Regions from separate parts of the Homo sapiens genome. Here region 2 is linked to region 1. Evidence: promoter capture Hi-C in human tissues and cell types (Jung and others, 2019). All regions are on one chromosome and are shown on one strand. Each heading gives the region's core, a stretch centred on a gene start or on the middle of the fragment in contact. The rest is flanking DNA. Distances are from core to core; before and after follow the strand shown. Region 1 holds the start of PSMD3 (proteasome 26S subunit, non-ATPase 3). Region 2 overlaps THRA (thyroid hormone receptor alpha).

Region 1 (4,313 bases), core at 1,047-3,546:
ATCTCTACAAAATATACCAAAAATTAGCCAGGCATGGTGGCATGTGTCTGTGGTCCCAGCTACTCGGGAGGCTGAGGTTAGAGGATCACTTGAGCCTGGGAGGCTGAGGCTGCAGTTAGCCAAGATAGCACCACTGCACTCCAGCTTGGGTGATGGAGCGAGATCCTGTCTCAAAAAATAAAAATAATTTTTAAAAAAGTAGTTCTATGAGTGCAGTACATGTCTGTAATCCCAGCACTTTGCAAGGCCGAGGCAGGAGGATCACCTGAGGTCAGGAGTTCAAGACCAGCCTAATCAACATAGTGAAGCCCTGTCTCTACTAAAAATTAAAAAAAAAAAAATTAAAAATTAGCTGGACATGGTGGCTCGCACCTGTAGTCCCAGCTACTCAGGAGAAGGAGGCAGGAGAATCGCTTGAACCCCAGAGGGGGAGGTTGCAGTGAGCCAAGATCACGACACTGTACTCCCTAGCCTGGCCAACAGAACGAGATTCCGTTTAAAAAAAAAAAAAAGTTTTATGAGTGGAAGAATTTCTCTAAGGATTTTGGTCCGTGGAGTCAGACTCTCCCCCAGTGTCTTAGTCACCCCCTGCCCAGCCTGGTTCCCTCATCCACCAAGAATTCATGACCAACTGCCAGAAGCTTTGTGTTATGCCGCCAGCCTCCCTGATCCTGAGCACCTTCCAAAGCCTCACTCTATTGCTCATGGATATACTGGGTTGTTATCTGCTGACTTGGTTGTTTTCTCCTTGTGATGTAAACTTAATAGAGAGATGAGCTAACACCCTAACTATCTAGAAGAGTAACTCCTTTGATTGTTAAGGATGAACATAACTCATCTGTTTTCTTCCTTACCATTCTCGCCCACCTTCAGTTGCAGATATGGTGTTATGAAGAGGTTCTAATGAGTTTATTCCAATGATGATTCAAAAGTCCTGTTATCCACCCCCCAGCCCTGGAGGGTGAGAGGACAGTTGAGGAGGAACTGGTCAAGGCATGTTCCCTAAAACTAGAGCACATATCTTTCCAGTTAGCGAGTGGCTGTTTAACGCAAGGAACATCCTGCAATCCTATGAAAGAGGATGCAAAAGATATGCAGGATACCCTTTATATATGCAAAGGAGGAGGTCAAAACATATTTCCTGCCTTCTAGGTCCTTACAACAGGGCTAGATTGTCTTGTAGGGTCCGTGAAAGGTCTAAAACTCAGGACTTCCACTTATGGGAGAGAGAAAAGTTTCAAGGTAGGGAGAGAGTTTTTGTTGTGTGTTCTAAGAAATTGGGAGCTATATCCTTCACCTTGTTTCACCTTCCCTGCAGAACCAGTGGGGCAGTCCTTTGAAAAATAAGTGGGTAGGGTTTCTTGTCCAATTTGCTTCCCCTTAGGTACACCACTAAGTAAACCATCATTCTCTCCTTAGGCACACCATTATTCTGTTCCCCATTTCACAATGTCTGTCTGGATGTATAAAAGCCCTCTCAATGGGCTCCCTAAAGCGTCTGCCAGTAGGGGCTCCCACCCTCTTTCCTCAACACTCCCAATCCACCGCAGCCCAGAGCACAGTGTCTGCTTATCTAACCATCTGACTCCCCCGTATACTACATTCTTGAGCTGTTTTTCACCCCCCTATTTGCTAACCGTGGGCCGTACATAGGGTGGACCCCTATATTTTGTTAAACTGGAGTGATTCTACGCAAATGCACGCTCCTACCTATCGGCACTCCCAGCCTGCAGAAATTGTATGCCTTATGTTCAGCACTAAACTCAAATCTAACCAAGGAAGTCCGGATCCCATAGGGTTCTTCCTACTCTCCAGTTCGGTTTATTTTAAGGCCAACAGCCCTAGCTTCACGTCCCTCCTTCACAGCCTTCTTTCCTTCCCTCCTGCCGGATGCGCCCGGCAGCCGTTGAGCACAAGCCCAGCGGATCTGGAAGGAGACCCCGCCGCGACCGGGGAAAATTGAGCGAACTTGGGCGCAAAACCCGCCCGGCAACTCGTGACGTCATCTCGTCCCGCGCTCGGATAGGCTGTACCCACTCCACGCTGGTTGAGGCGCTCTTAAAGTCCTTTGTAACCCAGATTGGAGCCTGAGGGGACCTCTCGTGGACGCCCACAGAAATGCACTCGAGAGGAACATAAAAGCATCACACTTAAGCGCTCGAAAGAAAGCCCCACGAACCCATAAAGGCTCCTCCCCGCTCCTTCCTCGAAGCTCCTCCTTCATCCTGCACCTCGGCTGTGGATTTATTTCCCCTTTGTTGACTCGGCCATCGGCCTGCCGGGCCTGGCGTTTCCCAGAAGGCCCAGCGCCGGGAAGGGGTTTGCAGCTGCTCCGTCATCGTGCGGCCCGACGCTATCTCGCGCTCGTGTGCAGGCCCGGCTCGGCTCCTGGTCCCCGGTGCGAGGGTTAACGCGAGGCCCCGGCCTCGGTCCCCGGACTAGGCCGTGACCCCGGGTGCCATGAAGCAGGAGGGCTCGGCGCGGCGCCGCGGCGCGGACAAGGCGAAACCGCCGCCCGGCGGAGGAGAACAAGAACCCCCACCGCCGCCGGCCCCCCAGGATGTGGAGATGAAAGAGGAGGCAGCGACGGGTGGCGGGTCGACGGGGGAGGCAGACGGCAAGACGGCGGCGGCAGCGGCTGAGCACTCCCAGCGAGAGCTGGACACAGTCACCTTGGAGGGTACGGCAGCCCAGGCCGGGAACGTGCCGCGATCGCGGGTGACAGCGACCCCTGTGATTTGGCTTCTTGCTGGGAAGCCACAGCAGCCTCCACCACCCTCAGTTCTTTGGGATCACCCCCAGATACCTGCTCCCACTGCCCCGACACTCCCGACTCCAGGCCCAATGACTGAACCTTCTCTCCAGGCTGGGAACCACTCCCCTCCCATCCCCTCCATCCCCATATCTGGGGTTGCATCTATATCTAGGTCCCAGTGGGCCTGGGGACTCCCTCTTTTAAGTCCTCCCCTCTGACCTATTCCGTTTATATCCCACCCGACTGATTTTAGCGCCTCCAATATATGACTGATTGTTCCCGCTGGAAACCAGTGTTTGTGTCTGTGTGTAAACAGGGCCAGGATGACCTAGAATATTGACTCCTGAGTTTTAAAACTGTACAGCAGATTTTTGTTGTCCTAGCTGCCTTTAGCACACTCCCCCGAATGAACCATTTCGACCTAGTATCTTGTTTCCTACTTCTCTAACTGAAGTGTCCCAACAGTCCCCTTGCTGTCTCCTCCCTTCAGGTCCTTACTGCCCCTCTGTTTCTAAAGGGTTTAAGTACATACACACTTAAAACTTTTCGGGTGTCATCTTTGTTTGGTTTTGTAATACTCAACCTTTGGCCTAAACTCCTATATACCGGTGTCTCCTATTTCTTTTCTCCGAGGTTCCTGTTTCGAGTGTCTGTAGTCCTCTTGTTCCTCCAAGTTCATGTTTTACTTTTCCCACTTACAGCGTCCTGTTTCCATTTGAAGTGGGCAAAGTGAGAGCTTCCCACTGTGATCCTGGTGCCATTTTCCTGGTTCTGGATCAAGTGGGACCAGACTACTTACTAGGTTTTCTTTTCACTAAAATGCGTGAGAAACTAGCTCAAAAACATTGAGATAAGCAAAGTTATCCTCCTAGGTGGTGCTTTTGAGGATGTGATGGTGTTGACTACATCAGCTCTTACTGTAAAGTTGAGCAACAGGATCGATATTTAATAGAGATCCTTTTACCTAAAGTAGTGGCAGCAATGTCAAAGGTGCCACTCAGCATTGCCTACTGGGTGTGTTTATTACAGGCACTTCATTTTCTTCTTGTAAAGTAATTCATATTCATTGCAGAAATTGTGGAATGTATGAGAAGTTAAAAGCAGGGGATAAAAAACATGGTTAACATTTTTTCTTGTGAATTTTTGAGCTGTTCTCCTATAATTGAGAGCAAGTTATGTATACAGTTTGTATCAAGGCATAACTAAATATAAATTTTGAATTTTATGTGTTTTCATTAACATTCGTAAACATAATCAGCATTCAATTTATTCCAGAAACATTTATTGAATACCCAATATAATGGTTAAGAGTACAAGTTCTGGAATTAGTTCCCTCATCTGTATAAATACAAGTAATAGTACAGTACTTTATTGGGTTGTTGTGAACATTAAAATGCTTAAAACTGTGCCTAGCACATAAATATCAGCTGTTATTATTTATATCATTAGTGTGGCCCAGATACCCTGTGCTAATCGGTGAATATACAGAAGTGCCTAAGAAACTACTCATTGATTGCATTCCCTTATTGCTTTGCATTTAAACTGTTTCTAGTTTCTT
Region 2 (4,313 bases), core at 997-3,496, 94 kb after region 1:
TGCCTGGGTGCAGAGGCCCCGTTCTGCTGCTGGCCCTGCCCAATCCCCTGACTTATCTCCCTCTCTCTTCCCACCCTGGCTGCTTATCAGCTCCTGGGGGTGGGGCCAGGGGGCCTAGGGGTGAGGTCTCCTATGCAGCAGCCACGTGACAGAGGTTGAGGTCGTATGTTGGGGAGCTGTACCCTTTGTCCCCCTCCTACCCGCCACACCTGCCTGTGTGCACACAGACAGTAAGCCACAGGTCTGCAGCCCAGGGTCAGAGGTGCAATGCCGTAGGAATGGTGGGCCCGGCTTGGCACTGCCCTGGACTCCAGGTAGCAGAACAAGGCTAGCATTAGGGCCAGGCTGTGAGGCTTATCCCACAGCCACCTGCTTACTAGTTGTGTGAACTTGAGTGAATGACCAAGCTTTCTGAGACTCAGTTTCCTCATCTGTGAAGTTCTCGTGCCCTCTTTGGAGGGTACAGATTCTCTCTCCAGTTAATATGTGTTAGTTTCCTTTCCTTTCCCCCTTGCCATCCTGGTCGATAGCAGCTCAGCTAAACCAACTGAGAAGTCTGGTCCTCTGCCTGGGAAGTGGGATTCGAGACCTTGCGTGGGAAGCTCTGGAGTCCCTGAGGGGCCAGAGTTGGGGATCATAACTTGGCTGGCAGCATGGGAGGTCAGTTCCCTACAGCTTTCAACATCTCTCTCTATTAAGGCACAAAGATGGGCATTCATGCTCACTGCGTGCCGCTCTATGTCCCATCCTTCCTTCACAGATACCCTCCCTGCCTATGCTGAAAACTGCTTGTCTCTGGTCCCCTCTTGCCCCTATAATACAGATGAGTTTCAGGAAAGCTTTTCTAGAGGGGTGGTAACAATAGCTAGTGTTTAATAGTTGCTCATTAAGGGCCAGGCATTTGTCTGAATATGAAGACTGAGACATATTACTTAGTACATGAATGATCTCATTCTCTCCCTCCATTCCTTCCCATGTCTGGGGCTTAGGAGGTGGATCTCCAATCTCGCCTGCTGTACCTGTTATCTAAGGGATCATCCTGGTCCCCTCTCTATGCCTGCCCTTCCTGCCCCCTGCTGTCTTGTTATGGGATCCCAAAGCCCCAAATGTTGCCACCAAAGGGATCCTACCCACCTTCCTACCGTGACACCTTCTTACCCCTGCCTCTCTCTTCTCTCCACAGGGATCTCTGGACAGGACAAGACTCCGAAGCTACTCCCCCAGCACACAGCCCGGGACCCACAAACCCAGCTTGCCCCCAGCCCTCCCACCTGCCACTCCCTGGCCCCTCCCACCGCCCGCCCCCCTTGGGGCGCAGGGCATGGTGTGAAAGGCCAAGTGCTGAGGCGGGTATCATGGGTGCTGTGCCCTAGGGCCTGGGTGGCAGGGGGTGGGTGGCCTGTGGGTGTGCCGGGGGGGCCAGTGTGCCCACCCCAGTCTCTTGGCGTGCTGGAGGGCATCCTGGATGGAATTGAAGTGAATGGAACAGAAGCCAAGCAAGGTGGAGTGTGGGTCAGACCCAGAGGAGAACAGGTAATGGGTTCAGCAACTAGGTCATGCCAACTCCTAAGCAGCAGGCATGGGCACCTGGCTGAGCTCTCCTTTAGGCACCGCCTTTAAGCACCTCTGTGGGATGGACGTGAGGCCAGCAAGCCTTCTGCCTACCTTTGTCTGGCAGATGAAGTCATGTTCAGATGTGACAGGCACTTGGATTGAGAGATGCTCATTTTGAAGCGGGGAGCGATACAGAGCAATTACAGGGAGCACATAAGGGGCTCTTCCCTAGACATTGCTGGGCAGTCTCAGATGCCCCCAACGTCCCTTCCACCATTGCTGCCCTTACCTTGAGCATGTGGGATCCAAACAGCCTTGCCATTTTCTTCCTCTCCCTACCAGCCCATTTACTATCTGACCACAAGTGTGTTGTCCACAAGCTGCGGTTCACGTAATACATTTCAGGGCACATGCACCAGTAACTATTGGTCATAGCCCAAGCTTATATTCGGAATCTATTGGGAGCCCCACAAGCTCTTCCTTGTTCATGGTCAAGGGCGGGCACTGCGATGGGGCTCCTCCCAGAAAGTGCACGCCAACCATGATGGTTTTGCTTCCACATGGGTGAGGTGTCAGCCCTGCACATACACCAAGGGATGGTTACCTGTGATCTGCATTGCCCTTGAGGAGCCCAGAGGGTCTCTGTCTTTTCTATCAGCTCCAAGTGGCACAGAGCTTTGTCCCAGTTGGCACGGTGCCCTGGGAGCTGGGTACAGCCTGTGCCTATGGCCAGGGAGAGGGTGGGGGTGGGGGTGCTCCGGGGAGCAGTGTGGCTGACTGTTGCCTAGGAGATCAGATCCCGAGCCAGGAAGCCAGAGGCCTGGCCAGGCAAAGCCCTAAGGCCCACAACTGGGTCCCTGGAGGGTAGAGGAAGTAGATGGAACTCACAGCTGGGCAGGGCATGGGGTAGCTCCCCTCCCCCAAAGCCTCACCCCAGGAAGGACTCTGAGGACGATCTGGCCTGTCGCTGTGTGGCTGTCACTTGCAGCCCCTGTGTCTCCCAGCTTAGGCTTCTGTGGGTCTGGAAGAGTCTGTGCTTAATGTTTGGAGAAAGGCAGGAATGCCAGTTCCCAGTCTCCTAAGACTGCAACCCCTCCCCCATCACCTTCCCCTCCCCCATGTCTATGCGCCACCTTGTGGCTATCTCTAGGACTACACTCAGAGGCTGTGAGTCTGGTGGTAACTGCTGAAGCCGCTAGCTCAACTGGGGCCTAGGTGGGCTGAGTTCCCCTGCACCCAACCCTCTGGGAGGCGTGAGGGAGACCTGACCTTTCAGCCTCATAGGAAGTAGACCGGAGTAATCCCCACGGGGCGTGGAGCATAGGGTTGTCTGTGACTGTGACCCTGGCCAAGGTCACTGTGTCAGTGTGTTGGGAGCTGCATCCGGCTCCAGGAGGAAGGGGCCTGCAACATGCCACACGCAGGGTGGGTGCGGGAGGTTATACAATCCTTGCATGCATGTAGAGGGCTTATGTAACCTGTGTGCACCGAGGTTATGCAACATGTATGTGGAGAGCCTGGCAACATATATGTGCAGTGGCTGAGGGTTGCTAATAATACGCTGCACAGAGGGGCTCAGTCCCGGCTCTGACTCTAGCTCATGGTGTCACCAGGCACAAGCAGGGTCTCAGTTTGCTGCTCTGTTAAATGGAGGCTGTGCAGAGGGTGTAGTGTTTTCTATTGCTGTGGGTTATTTAGCATGTGTGTATGACCTGGAGCTCAAGCAACACGTGCACACTGGAGGGATGAGGGTGGTTTTATGAGGTGCCTGTGCAGAGTGTTGTGTAACACATGGGCATATCCTAGAGGTTGTATAGCACATTTAAGAATGCCCTGAAAATTTCACAGGTATGTTGGCCCTGGTGCATACTCACCATCCATGGGTTTATAGTGAAGGTTGCATGGTTATTCATCTGTGCCGGTGTTATGTTGCATATGTATGTGTGTGTTCTAAAGGCTACATAGCTTTAAGCATATCCTGAGAATTCTTCCAGCGTATTCGTCATGTACTGAAAGATGAGGATGTCCTGCAGATTATGGGTGCTTCAGGTCTTCTGGCGGGTGAATGTGTGTGTGTTGGGGCTCTAGAATATGCTTGTGCCACAGCCAAGCCCCTTATCTCTCTCCCCTGCAACTTCCAGATAACTGGACCCTTTTAAGCATTGTCAGCTGACCCTGGGGGGTGGGAGGTAGAATGAGGACACAAAATGGAAAGAATCAGGCCTTGGGGGATTGCATAAGCCTCTCGGATGAGAAAGGGGCTACTCGAAGACTGCTCTGTGATTCTGCCCACTTTGCCTCCATCCAGTGCCAGGTCACCAGATGGAAAGCGAAAAAGAAAGAACGGCCAATGTTCCCTGAAAACCAGCATGTCAGGTGAGGCTGGCTGTGCGTGCCCCTTCTCCACGTCCCCAACCCCACCAAACCCAGCCAGGGCTCCTCTGGACCTGGATGTGGAACAGTAATTCATGTGTTCCCTGGGGGGAGCCTCCTAGAGGGCTTGGGATGGACTTGTCTGGGGGTGAGAAAGGTAATGTGGGATGTGCCCAGCTTTTGAGGGTGGATTAGGTCAGGACGGCCTCTTCCCTCTTCCCCTAATACCCTCATCTGAGGCCCTACCAGAATCAGGGCCTGAGCTGAAGGACTGAGGGGCTGTATTATCCCCAGTGAGCAGCTGACGTTTATTTTTCCCTCTCCACCATCCTCTGCCTTGTAGATAGATCAAGAAGAAAGCCCTGAATGGGCAGTCAGAAGAACTG

What was found. The method cuts DNA at HindIII sites, captures the fragments that hold promoters and counts their contacts. A contact is called where the count stands out against the background at its distance.
Region 2: a fragment that was not itself captured here is called in contact with the fragment with the promoter of PSMD3 in region 1 in 10 of the 25 tissues and cell types used here (H1 embryonic stem cells, IMR-90 fibroblasts, aorta and 7 more).

The regions. Positions count from the first base shown.
Region 1 is chr17:39,978,511-39,982,823 of GRCh38, forward strand. PSMD3 (proteasome 26S subunit, non-ATPase 3) reads left to right here and starts at 2,297. Exons shown (of 12, transcript NM_002809.4): 1 at 2,297-2,680. The coding sequence starts at 2,461. RefSeq lists enhancers at 107-1,306, 1,728-1,907, 2,128-2,407, 2,208-3,185 and a silencer at 2,588-2,637. The HindIII fragment of the contact is 7,545 bases long and covers 1-4,313 here.
Region 2 is chr17:40,073,009-40,077,321 of GRCh38, forward strand. It overlaps THRA (thyroid hormone receptor alpha), which reads left to right. Exons shown (of 9, transcript NM_199334.5): 2 at 1,184-1,533; 3 at 3,863-3,930. The coding sequence starts at 1,481. Among named protein-coding and RNA genes, the nearest start is that of THRA, 12 kb to the left of the region's middle. RefSeq lists enhancers at 1,776-2,631, 2,755-2,834. The HindIII fragment of the contact is 5,644 bases long and covers 1-4,313 here.